6 separate regions of the Homo sapiens genome follow, and regions 1, 2, 3, 5 and 6 are each linked to region 4. Evidence: promoter capture Hi-C in 16 types of primary human blood cells and fetal thymus (Javierre and others, 2016). All regions are on one chromosome and are shown on one strand. Each heading gives the region's core, a stretch centred on a gene start or on the middle of the fragment in contact. The rest is flanking DNA. Distances are from core to core; before and after follow the strand shown.

Evidence for each region. Contacts are between HindIII fragments. The CHiCAGO score rates a contact against its expected background, and 5 or more counts as called.
Region 1: the fragment with the promoter of NUS1 here is called in contact with the fragment with the promoter of PLN in region 4 in 2 of 17 cell types (naive CD4 T cells and naive B cells); the score reaches 8.2 in naive CD4 T cells.
Region 2: a fragment that was not itself captured here is called in contact with the fragment with the promoter of PLN in region 4 in 1 of 17 cell types (naive CD8 T cells); the score reaches 5.8 in naive CD8 T cells.
Region 3: a contact is called between a fragment that was not itself captured here and the fragment with the promoter of PLN in region 4, in 10 of 17 cell types (naive CD4 T cells, total CD4 T cells, non-activated CD4 T cells and 7 more). The highest score is 14.8, in naive CD4 T cells.
Region 5: the fragment with the promoter of GOPC here is called in contact with the fragment with the promoter of PLN in region 4 in 3 of 17 cell types (naive CD4 T cells, megakaryocytes and naive CD8 T cells); the score reaches 7.7 in naive CD4 T cells.
Region 6: a contact is called between a fragment that was not itself captured here and the fragment with the promoter of PLN in region 4, in 1 of 17 cell types (activated CD4 T cells). The highest score is 5.2, in activated CD4 T cells.

What each region holds. Positions count from the first base shown.
Region 1 is chr6:117,672,865-117,677,040 of GRCh38, forward strand. It overlaps NUS1 (NUS1 dehydrodolichyl diphosphate synthase subunit), which reads left to right and starts at 2,605. Exons shown (of 5, transcript NM_138459.5): 1 at 2,605-3,221. The coding sequence starts at 2,807. It overlaps LOC101927919 (a long non-coding RNA gene), which reads right to left and starts at 2,420. Exons shown (of 3, transcript NR_110854.1): 1 at 2,233-2,420; 2 at 1,783-1,971; 3 at 1-1,218. The HindIII fragment of the contact is 6,476 bases long and covers 1-4,176 here.
Region 2 is chr6:117,556,532-117,560,562 of GRCh38, forward strand. It overlaps GOPC (golgi associated PDZ and coiled-coil motif containing), which reads right to left. Exons shown (of 9, transcript NM_020399.4): 9 at 3,738-4,031. It also overlaps a transcript of DCBLD1 not described here. Among named protein-coding and RNA genes, the nearest start is that of GOPC, 44 kb to the right of the region's middle. RefSeq lists an enhancer at 1,747-1,796. The HindIII fragment of the contact is 192 bases long and covers 2,016-2,207 here.
Region 3 is chr6:117,971,533-117,975,724 of GRCh38, forward strand. The region is part of intron 1 of SLC35F1 (solute carrier family 35 member F1); the gene reads left to right. Among named protein-coding and RNA genes, the nearest start is that of SLC35F1, 66 kb to the left of the region's middle. The HindIII fragment of the contact is 3,815 bases long and covers 49-3,863 here.
Region 4 is chr6:118,546,894-118,551,146 of GRCh38, forward strand. PLN (phospholamban) reads left to right here and starts at 1,403. Exons shown (of 2, transcript NM_002667.5): 1 at 1,403-1,499. The region is part of intron 3 of CEP85L (centrosomal protein 85L); the gene reads right to left. The HindIII fragment of the contact is 6,726 bases long and covers 1,159-4,253 here.
Region 5 is chr6:117,599,807-117,604,125 of GRCh38, forward strand. It overlaps GOPC (golgi associated PDZ and coiled-coil motif containing), which reads right to left and starts at 2,705. Exons shown (of 9, transcript NM_020399.4): 1 at 2,198-2,705. The coding sequence starts at 2,482. It also overlaps the pseudogene NEPNP. RefSeq lists enhancers at 2,587-2,676, 2,807-3,096. The HindIII fragment of the contact is 3,398 bases long and covers 2,351-4,319 here.
Region 6 is chr6:119,100,946-119,104,758 of GRCh38, forward strand. It overlaps a transcript of FAM184A not described here. Among named protein-coding and RNA genes, the nearest start is that of FAM184A, 24 kb to the left of the region's middle. The HindIII fragment of the contact is 2,048 bases long and covers 1,489-3,536 here.

The DNA.
Region 1 (4,176 bases), core at 1,355-3,854, 870 kb before region 4:
TGTCATAATGACCATATCTCCCAAGGCCGAGGAAAACTTCTTAGGGAGGATGGCGTCTCATCTGCTCGTGCACTGCTTGCACCGCAACTAAGGGACCCCAGAAAGCAGTCTGCTCTCAGTTTTTACTACAGGGCAATGGGATGTGCTGGGCTAGTACTAGTTGAAGGACATCCTATTTCTAGAAGAGACTGGAACAGAGCCTGGGCTGTTCTGGTCAGTTCCTCCTTGTCTATAGTATATTGCATTCCAACACATTCTACAGTTATTCTCGAGAACTACAAGTGAGAAAAGGGGAAGAACTGTGTTGGTTCAAGGCCCCCAGAGAACTGTTCTGTATGAGACCCTCCATCCCTAGCCTACTGACAGCTGACAGAGAAGAAAAGTGGGTACCGCCGCCCCACCACTCTTTAGGAGGCTGAACATCCTGGGAGCTAGGGGACCTGCTACTAGGAGGAAACTCTAGGAGGAAAGCAAGCAAATGTCTGGGGAGAGACGCCAGGATCTGCATGTGAGTGTGTCAGATGGACATGTGGCTAGAATCCTTTTGCTTAAGTTTGCAATTCAAAGAAATACAGGGGCCGGACGCAGTGGCTCACGCCTGTAATCCCAGCACTTTGGGAGGCCAAGGCGGGCGGATCACCTGAGGTCAGGAGTTCAAGACCAACATGGTGAAACCCCGCCTCTACTAAAAACACACAAAAAATTAGCCGGGCGTAGTGGCGGGCACCTGTAGTCCCAGCTATTCGGGAGGCTGAGGCAGGAGAACGGCGTGAACCCGGGAGGCGGAGCCTGCAGTGAGCTGAGATCGCACCACTGCCCTCCAGCCTGGGCGACTGAGCGAGACTCCGTTTCAAAAAAAAAGGAAAAAAGAAATACAGAAGATAGAGCCTGTTTGTGCCTGCACACCTGAGAGCAGGCCACGGGAACATGAGATTGATGTCTTTAATCTTGTCAGAACGGATAGACATTGGGGCAAAGAAATGAGTACGGTAGAGAAATGTGGCAACATAGTCGGCATGGGGGGTGGGGTGGGGTCTGCAGAATACGTGGCCAAATCTCAATGGGACACTGGTGTCTAGGGAGCTTCCTTAACAAGCATCATGTAGCTGCATAAACTACAGCAATGGGCAGTGAGGAAGAAGACTGTAGGCTTCCCTGATCATGGCCTTTCGCCTCTCCTTCTTTGTCCATCATCAGAGGAGCTACCGCAGAGGAGACCTGGAGAGAAAGAAGTGTGTGAAGGGTGTGCCTGGTGCCCAGCCCTCAGTTCTTCAGGCTGCACTGCCAAAGGGAGGAAAATTGCACTGCGAAAGGGAGATGGACATGAGATTCAACTTTTAAAGTAAAGTTAAATGAGTCTTAGAAACCAAAATGAGACTAGTTGAAAAAGTGACAATGTTAGAAAAATTAAGTCACATAGCCAAGACGTGAACAGATGTTTCCCAGGGGGAAAAAGAGGCTTTAGCGAACAAAGAATAGGTAGGTATTACAAAAACGCAACTGTTTACACACACACACGTGTGTAAATATGTGTGTATACGTGTGTATGTGTACAGTTGCATTTTTGTAATACCTCCCTAATCTTTATATATATACTTATATAAATATAAATGCAAATAATATAAATATTATTGTTGCACACACACATATATATGATGATAGAGGATGTAGCATGTAGGATAAACCTTGAGAAATGGGTTGGAATGTCGGCAATACCAAGTCGGGAATCAGGAATTCAGGAGAAGAGCTTGAACAAAAAGGGCAAAGACAGTACAGACTTACCGCGGGGAAGTACAAAACCATTCTAGAGGACCACGTCGAAGTCCACATGGACAGAAACATTAGGGTGTTAAAGGGGATGATAAGGCTTGGATGGGCAGTTTGCTTCAAATAGTGGCGGTCATTGAAGTCAGGCACAATTTCTATTTTTTTTCCCCACTGTAAACCTAACCCACGGCGGTTGGTCAAAGTCTTGCCGAATAAAAAAAAAAAAAAAAAAAAAGAATTAAGTGACTGGACTGCCAAGCTGTAGAGCCTCTATTAAGCAATGTACAGCCAGGAAAGGATACCTTAGATGAGAATGACATGGGTAGAGGGGTGTTTCAGGAACATGGCTAAAGAGCCTCGCTCCCAGCCTCAGCCGGGAGGCTGAATAAAGGACAGTAGCAGGATCACTCCAGCCTTTGAGGACACTTTTGGAAACCCTGGTGGATTCCCAGCATCAACACTTACTGAGGGCTGCTTTCCATCCCTAGGTTCTTTCCGGCATTTGTAATTTCCAATCCACTTAGGACACTTCTACTCCTCAGAAACCGTTTCTGTCGGGGCCGTGAGAGGAGACAGTATAAGACTTCCTGGACCCAAGGGACGCCGGGTCCCCTGGAAGCGCCCATCGCATTGAAGACCACGTGTGCCTTGCTGGGGTCCCATTCAGACAAGTCCCGGGTCGTTCGCTCATCGCCCTCCACGCGACCAGGGGGCGCCCGCGGTATCGGCCCGGCTAGTTCGCAGGCGTGCGCCTTCCCTCACTGCGCCGGAACGGGCCACGTTCTCGGACCCAGAAGCCGCGTCAGAATTCCACGCTGGCCAATCGGAACTGTCCATGTACTACTGGGGGCGGGGCTGCCAAGGGAGGAGGAAGATGGCGGCGGGGGCGAGGTGAGGTGTTGGCAGTGGAAAGGGGTTCGGGCTCGGGGGGCGGGGGGACGCGGAGCGATGGCCCGCGCCGGCCGCAGGGGCGGATAAAAAGCCGTCGCGCTGCGGGAGTGGGCGGGAGGGAGAGGGGGTGTCTGAGGGCCACAAGAGTATGACGGGGCTGTACGAGCTGGTGTGGCGGGTGCTGCACGCGCTGCTCTGTCTGCACCGCACGCTCACCTCCTGGCTCCGCGTTCGGTTCGGCACCTGGAACTGGATCTGGCGGCGCTGCTGCCGCGCCGCCTCTGCCGCGGTCCTAGCGCCGCTCGGCTTCACGCTCCGCAAGCCCCCGGCAGTCGGCAGGAACCGCCGTCACCACCGGCACCCGCGCGGGGGGTCGTGCCTGGCAGCCGCACACCACCGGATGCGCTGGCGCGCGGACGGTCGTTCCTTGGAGAAGCTGCCTGTGCATATGGGCCTGGTGATCACCGAGGTGGAGCAGGAACCCAGCTTCTCGGACATCGCGAGCCTCGTGGTGTGGTGTATGGCCGTGGGCATCTCCTACATTAGCGTCTACGACCACCAAGGTGAGGCCCGGTGCGGTGGTGGGGGGTGGCCGAGGCGTCTTGGACCGCTAGACCGCTGGTCTGGCGGGTGGTGCCCATGGCACGAGTTGCCGCGGCCTCTCTGCAAATCACAGCGCTAGCGCTTTCGAGGAAGGGAGATCAGCTTTATTGAACACCTACTAATTCTCTGGATTTGACTCAGTAGCTTTTTAACATTTTAAAAATATCCCTTGGCCGGGCGCGGTGGCTCATGCCTGTAATCCCAGCACTTTGGGAGGCCGAGGCGGACGGATCACCTGAGGTCGGGAGTTCGAGACCAGCCTGACTAACATGGAGAAACCCCGTTTCTACTAAAAATACAAGTTTAGTCGGGCGTGGTGGCATATGCCTGTAATCCCAGCTACTAGGGAGGCTGAGGCAGGAGAATCGCTGGAACCCGGGAGGCGGAGGTTGTGGTGAGCCGAGATCGCGCCACTGCACTCCAGCCTGGGCAACAAGAGCGAAACTCTGTCTCAAATAAGTAAATAAATAAATAAAAATAAATAAAAAATCTCTTATTCGTTATAATACTGCAGTAATGTAGATGGTATTTGTATACCCTTGCCAAGGTTTAAAAACATTAACTGATTTGCCCAAGGCCACAAGATCGTAATGGGGCCACAAAGATCGGAATGAGGATATTGGAATTTTAGCCATTCTGTGCTTTTTCACAATCTTTGCCTTTGGTTACACCACACTGTTTCTTTAAGAGAGCTTCCAGGCGCTGTTCTTAAGTCGCAGTGAGGCTATAGAGGACTTAGGCATGGGCTGTGTGATAGGTACTGCAAATGGGAGCGGTGGGGGTCAGGTGGTATTTGAACTGGGTTTATGAAAAATATGTGAGAGATTGGATAGGCAGAAAAGAAAATGGTCCCTTTCTGTCTTGGAAGGCTGGGATGGTTTGTGATCCTTCATCATCAGTGCCCAACACAGTACT
Region 2 (4,031 bases), core at 862-3,361, 990 kb before region 4:
TGCTGCAAGACATGATTTCATTCCTTTTTTCATGGCTGAATAGTATTCAATGGTATATATTTACCACATTTTCTTTATCCAGTCATCCATTGATGGACACTTAGGTTGATTCCATACATATCTTTGCTATTGTGAATAGTGCTGTGATAAACATACGAGTGCCAGTATCTTTTCAATATAATTTCTTTCTTTCTTTGGGTATATGCCCAGTAGTGGGGTTGCTGGATCAAATGGTAGTTCTATTTTTAGTTCTTTGAGAAATCTCTATACTGTTTTCCGTAAAGGTTGTACTAATTTACATTCCCACCAACGGTGTAAGTGCTCCCTTTACTCTGTAGCCTCCCCAACATCTGTTTCTTGACTTTTTAATAATGGCCATTCTGATTGGTGTAAGATGATATCTCATTGTGGTTTTAATTTGCATTTCTCTGATTAGTGATGTTGAACTTTTTTTTTCATGTTTATCATCCACTTGTATGTTTTCTTTTGAAAAATCTCTGTTTTTTGCTCACTTTTTATCTTCTTACTTAGACGCCAGAGGTATTTCTTTTACAACCAAATGCCCTCTTAAAACTTTAAATCAAGCTTGTTGTTCAAATCTTCCTTCTTTCCTAATTTGCCTGAAAGTTTTGTTGCAATCTCCCACTATGATGATAGATTTAACATTGTAGTAAATTGGTTCTTTAAGAATTTAAGTAACCTTTATCCCTAATGGTTTTTTTCTTAAAGTCTGTTTTTAAAAAATATAACTGTATCCATGTTCTTTTGGAGAAAATATGCCCAGTGTATATTCTTTCTCCTTTCACTTTCAAATTTTTTATGTCCTTATGTTTTAGGTATGTTCCTTTTAAACAACATATTGCTGGATTTTTTCCAATTTAAATAAAATGTTTTCTAATTTCAGTTCTTTCTTTTAATAAGTTTACACCCTGATCAAGCACTCTCAAAAGTCAATTCCAGACTGGGCACGGTGGCCAGTCTAATCCCAGCACTTTGGGAGGCGGATGGATCACCTGAGGTCAGAAAGTTCAAGACCAGCCTGGCCAACATGGTGAAACCCCGTCTCTACTAAAAATACAAAAATTAGCCAGGCGTGGTGGCACGCACCTGTAATCCCAGCTACTTGTGAGGCTGAGGCAGAGGAATCACTTAAACCCAGGAGATGGAAGTTGCAGTGAGCCAAGATTGCACCATTGCACTCCAGCCTGGGCAACAAGAGTGAAACTCCGTCTCAAAAAAAATAAAAATAAAAAATATAAAATTCAGTTCTAGGAGTACTCCTTTGGTTTTTGCCAGAATGTGCTAGCTAATTCTTACACTTTTTGTGTAGTTTCTTTTCTCCTTTATCAGGCCCAGCACATCTCCCATCCTGGCTTTACTAGGATTTAGCCCTAGTTACAGGCCTGGCAGCAGACTAGGTAGGGGCAGGTATTGCCTTAGGGATGTGGTTAGTAGCAGCCTCTGTAACATCTTGGAGCATAGACAAGGTACAAGGTCTTATTAGAGAAGCGTGGGCTTCTTCTTAAGACCAACAGTCCAGTAGAGATTGCAAAGTCTCTCAGGTGCAGCCATCCAGATCTCCCCATGGTTCTAGGTTTTCCTCACCAGGGCCTTGACTTTCACAAAATAGAAGAGGTTTCGCTGAACATTCAAGTGTCTGAAACTCAGCAACTCTTAACACTTAGGTGTTCAGCCTGAAGCTCAGCTGTTTCAATCCCTCCATTGTAGGAGGTAAGGCCTCCTTGGGAGCTGCCCCCCTCCATCCATTTCTGTAGGTCATTAATACAATCCTGCTGTAACCGGCCAACTCTGCTATTCTTGTAGATGTTGTTCTCCCACATTTTTCAAATGTCTGCATCACTGACCCTCCTGGAGAGTTCCCCTCTCCATAAGCTGGATTTTTTCCAATTTAATAATTTTTTCCAATTTAAATAAAATGTTTTCCAATTTCAGTCCCAAGTCTCCAAAACTCTCCCCAAGTTGAGTGGTTTGCTAGGACTCATCAGACTAAGCAAAGCTTTATTCACAATTATGATTTATTACAGAGAATATAAAGCAAAATGAGGAAAGGGAAAAGGCATATGGGCACAGTCCCAAGAAAATCAGGTACAAGCTCCAAGATTCATTTCCCAATGGAGTCACACAGGACATGCTTAATTCCTCTAGCAATAATGTGTAACAATACATCAAGTGTTGTCCACCTAGGAAGCTTGCCTGACTGAACCTAGGAGTCAAGGTTTTAGGGAAGTCAGTGTAGGTACCCTCTGCCTAGCATGTACCAAAATTCTAGATTCCCAGAGGAAAGTAAGTGTTCAACAAAAATCCTACTGTTTGTACAAACACTTCAGGCACAGTAAACCGCACTTACCAGCAAGGGGATAATGGGAATACTCCTGATATCCAAATTGCTGGACGCTAGCCAAGGTCCAACCTTGCAAGCAGACCTAAAGACAACAGGTTCAGGCCTGTTCTGTTAACTCTTTTCTGCACACCATTTGTGAAATAGCCACTGAGCCATGATTTTGTGCCAACGACTAGATAAACTATACTCACCAACCAGATGTCACTGTCTTTACCCTTTGGGTGGGTTCCTAATGCCCATCTTATTACCTGTTTCCTCAAATCTCACTCATGGTCACTTGTGTTAATCTAGCCTCTCTAAGAAGCAGACGCCAACACCAAAAAGGGATCTGCTGTGCAACAGATTTATTAACGGCAATGCCAGTGAGGAAAAATAGGTAGGAAGCTGGAGTTGATTGGAGGCTGGAAGGCAATGAGATCACAATGGAGTTAAGACCCAAGGTGAATGAAAGGAGGAAGGAAGGTTGGGTGAAAGCAACTTGGACTACAATGTAATCCTAAGGGAGTTTGGCAAGACCATCGTGGAGTGCTCCAGCTAAAGTTGAGGAGTCATCATATAATATCCCTGTCATAATCAGTCACTGACTGGCAGCAGCATGGAGGAGCATAGCCTCACCATGTACACAGGGATGGATTTCAGACCACAGCAGCTGGACCTTCAGTAAGCTATGCTCCCTCCTGCACGAGAACTGACAGATGCATTCTCATGGCTGCTGCCGTGGTGATTATAGCTCTCAAATCACACCTGAAAAAGGTTCATTATTGAACAAATATTCAGCACCAACAGTGCACGGTAATTTGCAATACTTTTAAAGTGTTTCTTTAAGGTTAGTTATAAAACCACCTAAAATAAAATACTGATTAACAATGAAAATACAAGTTCTCTTTAAAATTTCATAAACTGACCAAAAAAAAATTCATAAATTGACCAATATCCTATGGGGTTGTATTCTGGGGAAAAGACTTCTTTTCAAATCACTTGGTGAATTGGGAGCTTAAATCAACACACGGAAAGCATATATGTATTAGCACTAAATCAAGGTTAGTCAGTGACAAAAATGTATTTCTAATGTTCATAACATTTCTAAATGTTCATAACTCAAGTAATTCATTTACAAGTATTTTCCAAAAATTATTTTACATATAACTTAGGAACTTCTAAATCATATATACTTAGATGTCAAAATGGAAGAATACCCTTTTAAATAGTATCTTAAAAACAGGATTGATTTTCTAACTTTCATCAATGTTTTCCTCATAGATAACAACAGCTGGCAATATTTATAACACAAAATTAAGCCAAGTCCTTTGCACAGACTTTATGACATGTTGGTACAAATAATAGAACTACTAGAAATAAATAACAAGCCAAAATATTTAACGTCAAGGAAACAAAATGTTTATTTAAAAAAATGAGATCAATATCATTTTAATGTAGAAGATGCCATCTTTATTTACAGGCTAATAAAAAAATATTAAACTCAACTAGATATAATACATTATCATAAATGCAATAGATTTGAGGCCAACCATAAGTGTAAGACTGGATAGATGGAATAGGGATTACATAATCAGGATGTCAAATACTGTGCATCTTACACATGAATCACATGAAACCTTTTTGTTTCTAAACATGAAAACAGCATAAGTCCACTGCAGTGGGGAAAAAA
Region 3 (4,192 bases), core at 706-3,205, 570 kb before region 4:
TGCACTGCCCTAGCAGAGGCTCTCCATGAGGGGTCCACCCCTGCAGTAAGCTTCTGCCTGGACATCCAGTCATTTCCATACATCCTCTGAAATCTAAGTGAAGGTTCCCAAACCTCAGTTCTTGACTTGTATGCACCTGCAGGCCCAATGCCACATGTAAACCACCAAGGCTTGGAGCTTGCACCCTCTGAAGCAACAGCCTGACCTGTACATTGGCCCCTTTTAGCCCTGGCTAGAGCTATAGCAGCTGGGACACAGGGCACCATGTCTGGGGCTACATAGAGGACAGGGGCCCTGGGCCTGGCCCAGGAAACCATTTTTCCCTCCTAGGCCTCCAGGCCTGTGATGGATGGAAGGGCTTGCTGTGAAGGTCTCTGATATGCCCTGGAGACATTTTCCCTATTGTCTTGGTGATTAACATTTGGCTCTTCATTACTTTTGCAAATTTCTCCAGCTGGCTTGAATTTCTCCCCAGAAAAAGGGTTTTTCTTTTATATCATCATCAGGGTGCAAATTTTCCAAACTTTCATGCTCTGCTTCCTTTTGAATACTTTGCTGCTTAGAAATTTCTTCTGCCAGATACTTTAAGTCATCCCTCTCAAGTTTGAGTTTTCACAGATCTCTAAGGTAGGGTCAAAATGCCACCAGTCTCTTTGCATTGCAAGAGTGAGCTTTACTCTAGTTCCCAACAAACTCCACATCTCCTTATGAGACCACCTCAGCCTGGACTTGATTGTCCATATCACTATCAGCATTTTGGTCAAAGCCATTCAACAAGTCTCTAGGAAGTTCCAAATTTTCCCACATTTTCTTTTGTTTTTCTGAGCCCTCCAAGTGGTTACAACCTCTGCCTGTTACCCATTTCCAAAGTTACTTCTGCATTTTTGGGTATGTTTACAGCAGTGCCCCCACTCTGCAGTACCAATTTACCATATTAGTCTGTTCTCATGCTGCTAATAAAGACATACCTAAGACTGGGTTATTTATAAAGAAAAAGAGATTTAATGGACTCACAGTTCCACATAGCTAGGGAGGCCTCACAATCATGGCAGAAGGCGAAGGAGGAGCAAAGACACATCTTACATGGTGGCAGGCAAGAGCGTGTACAGGGGAACTGCCCTTTATAAAACCATCAGATCTCATAAGACTTATTCACTATCACAAGAACAGCATGGGAAAAACCTGCCCCCATGAGTCAGTTACCTCCCACTGGGTCCCTCCCATGACATGTGAGGATTATGGAAACTACAATTCAAGATGAAGTTTGGGTGGGGACACAGCCAAATCATATCAGCCACCCATACCTAGATCCCCATTATAAAATTAGGGATACTTCTGTTTTTCTTCATAGGCAAGTACCTAGATGCTACAATTTAATAAGTTTACAAGCATTATGATAAATGTTAAAATTGTGGAATTTTAAAAAATACAGTTGGATGAAAGAGTTTGGCTGGTGTTTTATCTGTTACAGTATCTGTTAGGACTACTATAACAAAATCCCACAGACTAGGAGGCTTAAACAATAGAAATTTATTTTTTTCACAATATCTCACAGGAGGCTGGAAGTCCAAGATCAAGGTGTCAGTGGCAGGTTTGGTATCTTCCAAAGCCTCTCTCCTTGGCTTGCAGATGGCCACCTTCTTGCTGTGCTTTCACATGGCTTTTTCTCTGTACCTATGTGTCCCTAGTCTCTCTCTTCTTATAAAGACAGCAGTCCTGTTGGATGACGGTCCACCCACATGACCTCATTTTACCTTCTTTAAAGTCCTTATCTCCTAGTACAGTCTCATCCTGAAGTGAACTGGGGGTTAGGACTTCAACATATGGATTTGGGGTTGTAAGGGGACAAAGGACATAATGACTGATTTATGTATTTATTTACTCATCTATTTACCTAAAAATAAGTGTTACTGAAGGTTCGTAGACATTTTTCCTGAGAGCTGGTTTGATGATGATATGCTTTCTGGGTCTCTCCACATTGCAAGGTCAAAACTTGTTTTTAAATTTATTATTATTTTGTTTATTTATTTATTTAATTTTTAATATATATTTTTTTGAGACAAGGTCTTGCTCTGTTGCCCAGGCTGGAATGCAGTCATGCTCATTGCAGCCTAGAACTCCTAGGCTGAAGAGACCCTCCTGCCTCAGCCTTCCCAGTACCTGGGAATATAATCTTGTACCACCATGCCCAGCTGGTCAAAACTTGTTTTATAGAAACTATACTTTAGGATTATGGGTAATATTAGGGCCATTTCTTCACAACTTTTATAACTGTGAATAAGTGAAGGATGACCAGAAGTACCTATCAATTAATTTTTTAGTCCAATAGTCAGAATCCAGGAATTAACAGTAAACTCAAAGTTATGGTTTCTTCCAGCTCTGCCAAGGTAAACTACATCCAGTGAATCTTGACATTGCTTTGGGTTTAGCTCTGTTACATGCAGCTGGTATGCATATCCAGGCCCAGTACCCTGCTGGATGGTGCCAGTTTTACTGGGGAGGTTATATGCAGAGATTCTGCTGGTTTGAATCCTGGCTCTGCCACTTGTCAGCTCTTTGGACAAATTGTTTAATCTCTCTATGCCCCAGTTTCCTCATCCATGAAATAGGAATAATAATAATACATAGGGTTCTTGTTAGAAATAAATTAGTTATGCCATTAAGCACTTAGTACAAGGTCTAGCACTTAGCATATACTTAATCAGTGTTAGGTCTTACTATTTAGGAGCAGGGCATATATGGTTTTAGTCTGAAAAGATACCATTTTATTTCCCCAGACTAGCAATGTTCCAAACATAGCTGTATTTTCACATGATAGATACTCAGTAAATTTTTATTGAATGGATGAATGAATGATATTTGAAAATTTCTTATTCTGCACTGAAGTGAAATTTAATTTGGATTTTGAGTAGCATAAAGTCAAAAATGCCTTTGAACTCTGGAGCACAGCAGGAGGTTGCTTTGATTCTGAAAATCTGGAAAGATTTTTTGGAGTGTCTGAGCTCAACATTAATATAACTTTTTAATGCTGAATCAAAATAAGAGATCTGTGACAGCTATTCTTAAGAATTTTGGTCTAGGACTCATTTACACTCTTTAAAATTATTAAAGACCCAAAGAGCTTTGGTTTCTGTGGGATTATCTCAATTTATATTCATTACATTATAAATTAAAATAGAGGAATTTAAAAATATTTATGACATGTCCAAAGAACAAAAGTAAGCCCATGTGGGTTAATCTAAATAATGCTTTTTAAATTGTGTTTTCCAAAATAAAACAGAAAGTGAGAAGAGTAGCATTGTTTTACATTTTTGCAAATCTCTTTAATGTCTGACTTAATAGAAGACAAGTGGACTCACATATCTGCTTCTGCATCAATCTGTTGCAAAACTTGCATTGTATACTTGTAGGAGAATGAGAGTGATAAAGGCAAATAATGTGTTAGTATGATTATGAAAGTAGTTTTGAAGGTTTGGACTTCTTGAAAGGATCTTAGGGATTTCCCACACCACACTTGGAGAGCCACTGATGTAAGTCAAGTCCATTAGGAATCCATAGCCTCTGAGTTTTGCAATCTCCATTTATCAGCACTAATGAGCTGAACAGATGGAAATGTTTACTTCCTTCCATTGATGTTTAGAAACAAGTTGACTAAAATGATTTTCCAATGTCATTCACTCACCCTTCAGTGCTAATGCCCATCCTCAAATAAATGAGAACATTAAATAGCTAGAAAAAAAGTTTGTTGAAGTTATTTGACAAAAATAAAGAAATTTTGATTAGAGTTAACTGCATTATAAATGCTTAAAGACAATGTGTGGCCTTTCTCAAATTTAGAGTCCGCTAACTGGGAATGCCAATTAAGCTTTGACCTGGGATTGGCTGGCAGCATCCCAGGAAAAGTCTGGCAGTGTTGTTGAAGAATACTATAGGACCTAATGCCTTGAAAATTTTTTTTCATTTTAGTATGATCTCCCTCCCACTTTGATGTTTTAGAATTAATTGTGTATCTTAACCTGTCAATCAGATGTGAAATTACTATAGTAAGGTGTAATTTTAAAAACTCCCAGATTAGAGTGATAGGAGATGTGATTCTCTTATTTATTTATTTATTTTTGTAGACGGGAATCTACTAACCTATGTAAAAGGGAACTTATTCTGTTCTACAAGTGCTCTGTGCTATGCTGAAGTT
Region 4 (4,253 bases), core at 153-2,652:
GGCAATGTTCACAGGATATCTTTGCTAAAATATTATTTTTCAGTTAGTTTTAAGCTGACTCTTTAAATATCAAATGATTTGCTCTAGAGATGGATTTTCTTTCTTTGGAAGAAGCCAAGATCATTTCCATTTAAGGGCATGTAAGCAGCTGCTGCTACACATTTTAGTTACCCATAAGAAAGTGAAGTGGGCTAAGTTCACTCTGTCATAAGCATTTAAAAAATTAAAAATTACAAGTACCTCCTCTAAAATTAAAGAAGAGATTTAAGAATTAATATTTTCGAGTGTGGTGACTTAAGTAAATCTAACATCTAAGACAACAAATTAGATAAACAGAGAAGAGGAGAATGATGCCCGGCTTTACAAAAAAATTATTTCCCCAGTTCTACTGTAAGATAAACTGTTCTAGGAAGTTCAAAATATCATCTCACTTACTAGCATCTCATTTTTATAGTAATTTTCAGGAAAGCAACTGCTAGATTAAATGAGGCACATCCTTTCAAAAACATTACAAAACTTAAATTTCAACACATCAAACCTATAAAGCCTCATTAACTGAGATGTAACTGATTTGGAATCTGTAATTATTTCTTTTTTGCCATAAAGTTGCCCTTAATACTGCATCAGTTTATTAAAAATTTGGTAAGATTGTGTAATAATTTAATGCAATTGTTTTTAAAAAATCTTAAATACTTAAAGTAGCATATTGCTATTTTGGGGGTGTTGTATGTATCAGTTTAAATATAAGTATTACTATTCACAAATATATTGTTAAACTGCTAATTGAAGAAAACACAAATGAATTAAATACATTTATTAGTTCTTTAACTGTAAGATAAAAATAATTTTTTAAAACAAAAAGCAATTAGCCTGATTTTCTCATACTCCTTCTCCCATACACACAAGAACAAGAACAAAATAAGAAAACAGGTATAAAATTTTATTGTGTAAAAATATTTCACTTTCACTAAAAGCTAACATTATGAAGACACGTATTAAAGCAACAGCAGCAAGAATTCAATGAAAGTTGTTTTGCTTATACCTGTGTTTATTTTTCTCATAATTAAAATTCCTGCAGTAACTATTTTAGCTCTTCAACATCTTCACCATTAATATTCAATTATCTCTAAGCCTGAAGATGCATGAATCTTTAACAAAAGCTTTCCACCACCTCAAGTTTACTTATTTTTTTCATTTATCTACCATATACTGTTTTAAATTAAAAACAAAAGATGAAGCACAAAGTGTTAATGACTTTTCCATACCTAAAGTAAGAAGTTCTAAAGTTTGGTTGTGATAAGACTGAGACTGTGGCTAACCAATCGAAACTTCAGAATTCCTATGTGACATCATAAGACCTCCCTAGAACACTTTTTCTCCTCCACCTACTGCAACTGTTCCCATAAACTGGGTGACAGAGTCAGAAAACTCCCCAGCTAAACACCCGTAAGACTTCATACAACACAATACTCTATACTGTGATGATCACAGCTGCCAAGGTAAGAAACAGATTTCGCTGACTTTGGTAATTCTTACTTTCTATAATTCTTAATTCCTATAATTTCTATAATCTGAACTTTTAAAATGAGTTAATTTTATGAATATCAGTTCAATCTTAGGCAATAAAATGACATGACAAAGTGCTTAAATTTATAAATGCTTATCCATTTAGTGACAGGAAAAATGAGACAACTTTGAAATGAAAAAGGTCATATTCATCTTTGATCCTGGTTACTGGTTTGTCATTTAAATTTATCTTTCACTTTTATTTTGCTTTTCAAATGTGAATTTCTGCCAATTAAAAAATCTTCCAATTATGTTACCATATTTGGTAGTAGTGGTTAATTTCTCCATGCAAAAACAATGACTTAATTTTGTTATTTATTGCTCTGCTGAGAAACAGTGCAGAACTGAGCTATTTACATCTGAACTAATATGAATAGTCATTTGACTACAACATGCACATTATCAGCATGCCTATTCCAATATTATCATAATTTCATACAGTGAATAATGAAATGGAGTTTCAGAATATATAATACAAGCTACTTTTAAAGTGCCCTTGAGGATGTTTCCCCTCTAAAGTCCAGTCAACTTTTAACAAACATTTCTAAAAAAATTCCATGCTATTAATAAATTGAGTTACTGATATTAAATTCAATATTGTATCATAAAGAAGTTTAGAAATTTTAAAACAATGTTCACAAACACAAAAAATCTGACGTTAGAGAATAATTTGATACTTTAAAAAGTTATTTTGACACACGAATATTCTTAACTATCTTATTTTCACACAAATTTGATTAAATGGATTTCTGCCTATTAATGCCTATAGTTTTGTCAAGTTATTATCCTCCAGTGGTACTCCATTTCCTCTCTCGGATTTAGAAAGAAAGGAAAAAATAAAATAAATGCCAGGAATGGAGATGCCACAATCAATTTTATGACTTCTGTTTGAATTCTACCCTATTCTTTATGTTACAATCCTCAATTTAGTAAATGAAACGTTTCCTCATTCTTAGATCTCTGTCAGGGCATACAGAAAATTACATATATTTTATTTATTTTGATTTTCATATTTCATATATATGTTAAAATAAAATTTATCTCTAAAATTCTCAATTCCTATGACAAATGTTAATTCTATTGCTCACTACAAATAAGAACTTTGTAACTCTGTAAGCAGCTTTCCTTAAGACATAAAAAAACATAATTTTTGTCTACCACTGAGGTATCCTAATTGTGTCTCCATATCTCTATACTCATATTTTTCCTTTGATAGTACATAAAAGTCATTCAGTGTAGGTGTCTTATGTTATTTGTGCATTTTTATTCAAATATCTATCAAATTACATTCTCACACTTCAAATTGGGTGTTCACGAGTTATTTTATTGTATCAGAATTTTGCTATATCACATATTACTCTAAAAAGTACACATACTTCTGGATAGAGCAGAAATTATATTAAACTTACCCTTAGCTCACTAGTATGTCTCAGTTAACAGAAATTACAGTTACAGAGACTGCTAAAATTTCAAATATAATGTGGTAGTACCATACATTGTGTCCCAACTAGTTCATCTATACCTTAAGGTGCAAGTTAAGTATTATCTTTGTTTATGAAGACATGTGGTTTCAAAGTAAGTGCTAAAAAAAGTGTTAGATGAAATCAAATGGAAAAAATATGAAAGATGTTTAAATTAAGAAGCATTAAGTTTTAAAAACGCATGAAAGAGCCAGAGTACTTGCTTTACTAAAAGGCGTGACAGCACTATCATTTCCTAAAACTCAAATATCAAATCCATTTTATTTGTATTTTAGTAGGCATAAAGGAAAATGATCACATTTGGGTATATAATCATATCTTTAATTAGTGAGATTAAGAAATAATAAAATATTGCATAAATACAATAGTTTCAGAAAATTTTAATGTATTTTAATGTTTTAATGTACTCATTACACATGTACACTAAATTATGTAATATATTAAATTTTTAATTAAAAAACCTAAAGTCTAGTTACCTCTCCAAATTAGACAATATATTACCAATCCCAGAAATGAGGAGGGCCAATGAACACTTCTTTTTTATTCTTAAAGAGCAATTTCCTAATATACTCGTGTACACAAATATTTCATTTGGTCCTCTTAATTATATATTTGATACTGCATCCCTATTCTACAATTTAGGAAAGATGCAAAAAGGTGAACTGCTCAAGATCACAGAACTAAGAAAACAGGGAAACCTTGGCAGAAGTTTAGGTTTTGTCACTAAGCCACATGCACATCCTCTATATACTGATCAGCATGGCTTAAAGTAAACCATGACACTGACAAACAAAATTTGAAAGCCCCCAAATACTGTAAATGATATTCTAAAAGGCAAAAGGCAAATTCAGAGAATACAAACTTCTATTTTAATTAAAAGCCATTCCACTCCATTTAAATTCAATTTATGCATAGCATTACATTCTTAATAGTCTAAATTATATTCTACTGATCATTTTCAAAACCAGAAATATACGAAAATTACAGATGCCCTTAGTTATTAAGCAATACCTCCTGGAAGGCAAAATTCAAACTAACTGCACAGACTTTAAAAAAAATAACACACCCCAATCAATCAAAGTTTCCTTTTATTTGTTTCATTGCTAAAATACTCATGCCTTCAATTCATCTGATACCTAAAATCCAAGTTAACATCTCCTCAAAACTTTCACAAAAATCACATTTCGATACTTTATTCTAGGTTCC
Region 5 (4,319 bases), core at 1,455-3,954, 950 kb before region 4:
AATATTTAAAGACAAAAAAAATGGAGCACAGCCTCCTACTGAGAAAATTATCCTTCCTCCCAATTTCAATTTTTATATCTGACATCAAATCCCTGTTTAAAGTTTCCTTAGGTCATTTTAAAAATAAATAAAATATTGTTTCATTTTTAAAAAGTTGTTAATGCCCAGTTGATACTGCAGTTGTAAATGATATGAAATTTCTCGTGTGATGTTTTAGTCCACTTTCTGTTTCTTATAACAGAATACCAGAAACTAGGTAATTTATAAAGAAAAGGAATGTATTTCTTACAGTTATGGAGACAGAGAAGTCCAAGGTCGAGGGGCCAGATCTCGAGAAGTCGAGAGCCTTCTTGCTGGCAGGGGATCTGTGCAGAGTATGGAGGCAGCATAGGGTGTCACATGGCAAGGAGGCTGAGCATGCTAACATGCTTACTCAGGTCTTTCTTCCTCTTCTTATAAACCACCAGTTCTACACTCCTATGATAACTCATTCATCCATTTATCCAATAACAAATCAATCTATAAGTGGATTAATCCATTCATAAGAACAGAGTACTCATGATCCAGTCTCCTCTTAAAGGCCCCACATTGGAGATTCAATACTGTCACATTGAGGATTAAGTTTCCCATACACGAAATTTGGGGGACACATTCGAATTATACCATGTGGTAAAGGCTACTCTTGATCTTTGTTGTTTAAAGCTAGAGAACTAATGGCCAGGCACAGTAGCTCATGTCTGTAATCAAAGCACTTTGGGAGGCCAAGGCAGGAGGATCACCTGAGGCCAGGAATTCAAGACCAAACTGGGCAACAAAGCACTCCATCTCTTTTTTGAAAAAAATATAATAAGATAAAATAAGATGAAATAAAGTTAAAGTACTATTTCTAGAAAACATTAAATGCAATTTCACTATCTGAGAAAAATAGCTTTCTTGTGGAAATTACTACCAATAAAGAAATCAAGAGATGTTTTCATTTACCTACAGTAAGAAGTGATTACCTTCATATTAGCACTTTCTAATCTTTTCAAAAAGGATAGAAGAAATTAACAGTTCTCGCAGTGGAGAAGAGCCACAATTCTTGGATATGTAAATCTATGTTAATCAAAGATTAATTATGCCACATATTTCATGGCTAATAGGAGAGAAAGAATGCTGACCACTAGGCAAGGAGAGGATGTTTAACTGACATTCATATTGATATAGATATAATGGGCACTGTCAATGACAACGAGTAATGATGATTTCTTAGGAAAGCATGTTCAGAGTTTTGCACATCACTGATTATCCCATTTTTATCTATTACACTTTTTGAAAAGAAAGACCCATTCTCTTAAATTGCCTAGTTAGAAAGTACTCTTTATGCAATAATGTTAATCTATCTTGATTTCTAAATATTTTAATAATGTCCTTTTTAAATTTTCTGCACAATATGATATTTTTGTTTTTTTGAACCACAGCCACTCCACCCTCACCCACACCCAGGATCAGAGATTAAAGCAAATGATTCTTTACACTCTCTCAAAAATAAATCCAGACTTTGGAAAATTACACAGTAATGTACAAGCATATAAAAACTCAAGGTCAGAAGTAATTTCAATAATTGCAGGGAGCTCTCTGGAGGTATCTGCCTGTAATTTAACAACCAACTATGGATGTAAACCGAGACAGTGATACTATCGTTATGCACCACGAAATTTTCCTAAGAGCTTTGATCAGATTCCCCTAAATAGTTTATGCATGTCTCTGTATGCAATCATAGGCGCTGACCTGGAATAATTAAAATGAAAATAATCAGTGCTGTATCTGTCTTAACATATACAAATTCGGTTTATCAATGTGAAAGCAGATCTGCAAAACTCAGTTGTCAAAAGGTGGCCTACGGTATTTTCATGACAGAGAATCTTTGTTAGGTTTGTTAATGTAACATGTGCAATGGAGGCTGGTGTATGTAATTAGTTTCCTCCTCAGAGAGATACTAGGAAGGTGGACGACAGTACCCCGGGAACTCACACGTCGGTCTAGGGCCCTTTTTGTCCCCCACCCTCACCTCACTCCTCAGACATGCACTCTCCCATCACATTTGAAGCCCCGGTGGGCAGTTTTCTAGGGTCGTTTCACTGGAGCGTTAAATGGCATCTGACGCCACCGGGCAGCCTGGGGTTGGATGCCATAGCCGCCAGCACCCACGGCTCACCTCCAGCTTGTGGTTGATTTGAGACACAGACTGGGCTTTGTGGCAAAGCTGTGCAAAGCAGGAGCTCAGGCTGGTCATCTTCTGTCGCCCCTCATAAGTGATGTCCGCTTGGTCTGGATCGATCTCTCCCAGGAGCAGATCCACATCCACAAAAGCTTTGTCGAACTCCTTCTCCAGCACCTCCAGCCACCGGAACATGGATACCCCGCCAGGGGCCCCCACGGAGCAGGAGGCGCCCCCTGGGCCCCCTCCGGCTGCTGCTGGGCATGGACCGCCCGCCGACATGGCGCCGTCAAGGGCCTCTCCCGACTGCTGAAGACCCTCGCCGCCCCCCGCGCACGAAGGGAACTGCTGGGACTGAGGGGACCCCCGCGCGCGCGGGCACACTCCGTCACCTCCCTTCACCTCGCGCCGTTAACGCCAGCAGCACAGTCACAGAACCGCAGGAGTAACGAGGCTGAAGCTGAGGCGGCAACGGCGGCGACACACGGAAGACTCAGTCAGTCCCACCTCCCAGCCTGCCCCCGCTGCGCATGCGTAGCGAAGAGCTGGGCGGACGCAGCCACGAGGGACAAAATAGGCGGGGACAGGATGCGATCTTGGCCTATGAAAGGCCTCAGCTTGGGAGCGGCCTGTCAGCGGCCATATTAACAACTGGCAAACTACGGCTTGAATCCCTGAGAAACGGAGGCGCGTGGTTTCTGCACCCTGGTTGGAAAGGCCCGAGGATGAGAAAGGTGTCCACGTCGCAGAAAGGAAGGATTTCCGCCGGTTTGACTTAACAGTTGGCGGGAGCCGTTCCAAAATCCTCCCAGAAAGTTGCTGCGGTGGCATCTAGGGTCAGGGAGGGGAGAGCAAGGAAGGGCGGTGTGAGCATGCGCAATAGCCACGTTTTTACCTTCTCGATTCCAGTTCCTGGATAGGATGGAGTGGGTGTACACACTGGCTGTTCTTGGTAAACCAGACCCCAAATTCCAGGTGTGGACTGCCTAAAGCTGCGCATTGAAGCGGCTGACCAGATTTTGCGGAATTAATAGAAGACTTTTTGTCTTGTGATTAAGAGTCAGGTAGACCTGGATTCAATTCTTACCCTCTGTCACATACTACCTGTGTCGCCTTTCATGTATTAACCTCGAAACCAAGTTTCCAAATTTTACTTAACTCAGTTGTAAGGTAAAACGCTTAGCGTCACTTCTTGGCACACGGTATTCCTCTTAATACACCATAGGTCACACATTTCAAAAGCAACTACAGTAGTGCTTCACTTAAGATGGGGATATGTTCTTAGGAATGTGTCCTTAGGTTAATCATCCCTTAGGGAACATCCTAGAGTGTATTTAAACACAAACCTAGATAGTATAGCCTACTACACACCCAGGCTATATGATGTAGCCTATTGCTCTTAGGCTGTAAACCTGTACAGCATGTTGCCATTCTGGATACGGTAGGCGATTATAACACAGTGGTAACTATTTGTGTACTTAAACATATCTAAACATAGAAAAGGTACAGTCATATACTCTTATAGGATCACCATAGTTTATGCGATCCATTCATTGCTGAAGCCTTGTTATTTGGCACATAACTGTACTTTAAAAGGTGTATTTATTTGAAAACTGGTAGTGTCCTCACACGTGACATTTCAGAAAATCAAAATTGTGAATTCATATATTTACAAATATATTGAATGCAGAGCTCTGTTGCGACATTGAAGACACAAAAATGAATGAGACATGACCCTTACTCAAGATAGGCTAGTGAGGCTACTACCCCTCAACTATAACTTTAACTTGAATTTTTCAGTGCCTTTAAAAGTATCCAGCAACTCCTCTCTTTACATTCTGCCTACTTCCAGTTCAAGGGTAGACAGTCCTAGAAAGGGAAAGAGAAACCTGTGTGATTAGAGTAGGCTGGTGGAAACTCCTGCATTACCTAGAAGCATATTTAGCTGAGTGCAGTCTGCTGTTATCTGTTCTTGGGGCAGACCCTTACGGTTAATCACAACCCAAAGCCTGCATTGTGTGCCCTTCGCTGATGCAAGGCAACTGAGGAGCAAGAAATCACAATTTTATTATTGCAGTCTTTGTACTGCATGGCAGACTGGTTAGCATGAAGCAATAAA
Region 6 (3,813 bases), core at 1,263-3,762, 560 kb after region 4:
AAGACTGTCTCAGAAAAACCCCAAAAAACAAAACAAAAAAACTTCTCTATATCCTCATGTTTTTATAGGCTCTATGAAAATAGTAATCCCCCATAATGTCTCACATTTCTCACAATGCACTTTCTTTTTTTTTTTTTGTAGATGGAGTTTCACTCTTGTTGCCCAGGCTGGAGTTTAATGGCATGATCTCGGCTCACTGCACCCTCCACCTCCTGGGTTCAAGCAATTCTCCTGCCTCAGCCTCCCGAGTAGCTGGGATTACAGGCATGCACCACCACGCCTGGCTAATTTTTTTTGTATTTTTTTAGTAGAGACGGGGTTTCTCCACGTTGGTCAGAATGGTCTTGAACTCCCAACCTCCGGTGATCCGCCCGCCTCGGCCTCCCAAAGTGCTGGGATTACAGGCGTGAACCACTGCGCCCAGCCACAATGCACTTTCATATCAATTATCTCATTTAATCTCAAAACAGTCCTTGAGATAAATATTATGAGCCTTACTTTACTATAGGATAACAGTGACCAAGATAAGTTAAATATTCCCCTGTAAGGCCATAAATCAAGCAAGTTGCTAATGTTCAAACTTCACTCTTTTGATTCTAATTTTGGTACTTTTCCCACCATACCCACATTTGTCTTCTATAATCGCGCAAATTTCTTGAGTGTGGGCATGGGATGTAACATACTAATAATGCTTAAATTATATGTACAAATCATGTTAACATTCTTCATATGAATCTTTTGTATTCATATCCCTTGCTGGTACAAGTGGGATACATAGTAGGAGACAACCACCATAAAGACACACAAAAAATTAAAGAATAAAGGATAGGCTGGGTGCGGTGACTCACGCCTGTAATCCCAGCACTTTGGGAGGCTGAGGTGGGCACATCACCCGAGGTCAGGAGTTCAAGACCAGCCTGGACAACATGATGAAACCCTGTCTGTACTAAAAATACAAAAATTAGCTGGGCTTGGTGGCGTGTGCCTGTAATCCCAGCTACTCAGGAGGCTGAGGTAGGAGAATCGCTTGAACCTGGGAGGCAGAGGTTGCAGTGAGCCGAGATCATACCACTGCACTCCAGCCTGGGCAACACAGTGAGACTTCATCTCAAAAAAATAAAAATAAAAATAAATAAAGTATATAAATGCATCATAAATAGAGTAATGCTAGGAAGAAACTGAATAATATTCTATCATGGAAAAGGAGTAGTTAGGGCAGGGCACAGGAAACAGCAGATTGTTTTCCATCCCTCATCAGAAGATTGGGAGTATAATTTTCAATGAAAAGAGTGAAGCTGATTATAAATGTAAGATATTGGCCCTTTAGGATTTGCTGTAGGCCAGCAGTTAGTGGAATTCTTAATTCCCCCCAATTATTACTAAAATTGTTATACCCTAAAGACCAATAAGGCATGAGAAGGAGGCCTGTGCTTAAAATAATCTCTACTTAGAATCAGGTGTATTAGGCAATAGGAATCATAGTAAATAAGCTTCAGTATGTATCAGGAAAGCAGAGAGCTATTACCAGCAGAAAATCTTGAGTTTGAAAATATCACTATAGGCTGGGCACAGTGGCTCACACCTGTAATCACAGCACTTTGGAAGGCCGAGGTAGGTAGATCACCTGAGGTCAGGAGTTTGAGACCAGCCTGGCCAATATGGTGAAGCCCCGTCTCTACTAAAAAATACATAATATTAGCTGGGCATGCTGGCATGCACCTGTAGCCCCAGCTACTCAGGAGGCTGAGGCAGGAGAATCGTTTGAATCCAGGAGGAGGAGGTTGCAGTGAGCTGAGATCGAGCCATTGCACTCCAGCCTGATGACAGAGACTCCATCTCAAAAAAAAAAAAAAAAAAAAAAAGAAAAGAAAAAAGAAAAGAAAATATCACTAAAAAAGGGCAGAGAAGAACAATATGAGCTCTAAAGTAGGACAGACCTGCCAGGAAATGCTACAAAGAGCATATAGTAGGCCTTGGTTTTCTATACAATGTCTACTCCCTTCTTATTCTTTCTTAACAGGACCCTAGTTTTGCTCAGATATTCATCTGTTCTTCATGCAATTCTGGAGTAACCTCCAGCTCGGGAGTCAACCCTAATTGGTCTGAATCAATTATGATATTCTTATTCTCCTGCCAGGAATTGGTTTATGATCATGTGGTTCAGGGACCTGGTTCTTGTCCATGACAAGGATAGAGAAGGGCCTGCTTTCTACCTGTGGACACTGCTGTGTCTGTATGTGATGCCTGAAACTACTACATCCATCTTGTTACCAGTCAGAGTATGAAGCCAGGACACTGATGAGTGTAGAGTGGAAAGACGAAATGAAGCTGGATCCAAGATGACATTGATGAGTAGCTACATCAACCCCCCCAAATCTATTTACTGACTACTTCAGGATTTTCTGATACATGAGTTAACAAATTTCTATTATTTAAGCCAATCTGGCTGAGTGATTTTTTTGTAATTTATAGACAAAGACACTTTAGCTGATGCAAGAATTAGGATGGTGGTAGACCTTCCATCCCAGCATGCGTTCTTTGCTCTTTCAATAATAAAAGATGAGCAAGACAAAACTAGAAGATTGTGCATAATTGGATGTCCAATTCATTTGTTGGAAAAAATTCAGGGAAATTCTAAGGAACCACATCTATGTTTTTCTGAGGCAGGAAAACAAAATATTTTTAAAAAGAGAGAGAGGAGGCCAGGCACGGTGGCTCAAGCCTGTAATCCTAGCACTTTGGGAGGCTGTGACAGGCGGATCACGAGGTCAAGAGATTGAGACCATCCTGGGCCAACATGGTGAAACCCCATCTCTACTAAAAATACAAAAATTAGCCAGGCATGGTGGCACGCACCTGTAGTCCCAGCTACTTGGGAGGCTGAGGCAGGAGAATTGCTTGAACCCAGGAGGTGGAGGTTGCAGTGAGCAGAGATCGAGCCACTGTACTCCAGCCTGGTGTCAGAGTGAGACTCCGTGTAGAGAAAAAAAAAAAAAAAAAAAAAGAGGAATGTTCATTCTTTACTCTGGTAATAATGTATTGTGCCATATTTTGGAAAATGATGATATTTTTATTTAATTTATGTAAGTTTATTTTTATTTTTATTTTTGAGATAGGGTCTTGCCCTATTGCCCAGGCTGGAGTGCAGTGGTGTGATCAGGGCTCACTGCAGCCTCAACCTCCCAGGCTCAAACGATCCTCCCAAGTATCTGGGACCACAGGTGCCTGCCACCAAGCCCAGCTAATTTTTGTATTTTTGCCATGTTGGCCAGGCTGGCCTCAAACCCCTGGGCTCAAGCAATCTGCCCACCTCTGCCTCCCAAAGTACTGGAATTACAGGCTTGAGCCACCATGCCTGGCCAACCATAGTTCTAAAAAGATGTTTGAAAATATTCCAAATGCCACCGCAAGAAAAACGAGGAAAGTATTGGCTTTTAGAATGTGGAATCTCTAAAATGAGAACTTAAACCTCTTGAGGGCAAGGATAATGTCTCAGGTTTGCATTCCCAGGGTCCACCATAGTGCCTGATAATAAAAGCTTGTCAGAGAAATAATCTGAGAACCTGGGAAAATGTGTCCAAAGTGGTATCACGCAAATAGTATCACACAGAAGATGTCCCTACAAAGATTCTAAGAATATGATCTTAAGTGTGTAAAGTGTCAAGATGCCACAACTTACCAAGACTTTGATGATTACATTTTTTTAAATGGTGCATGCTTTCAAAATTATAAATTACATTTTATTTACATATAAAATTAAATGGCTCTTCACTCCTTAAGTGTGGACTGCAAATAGAGACTTCTTTCCAAAAA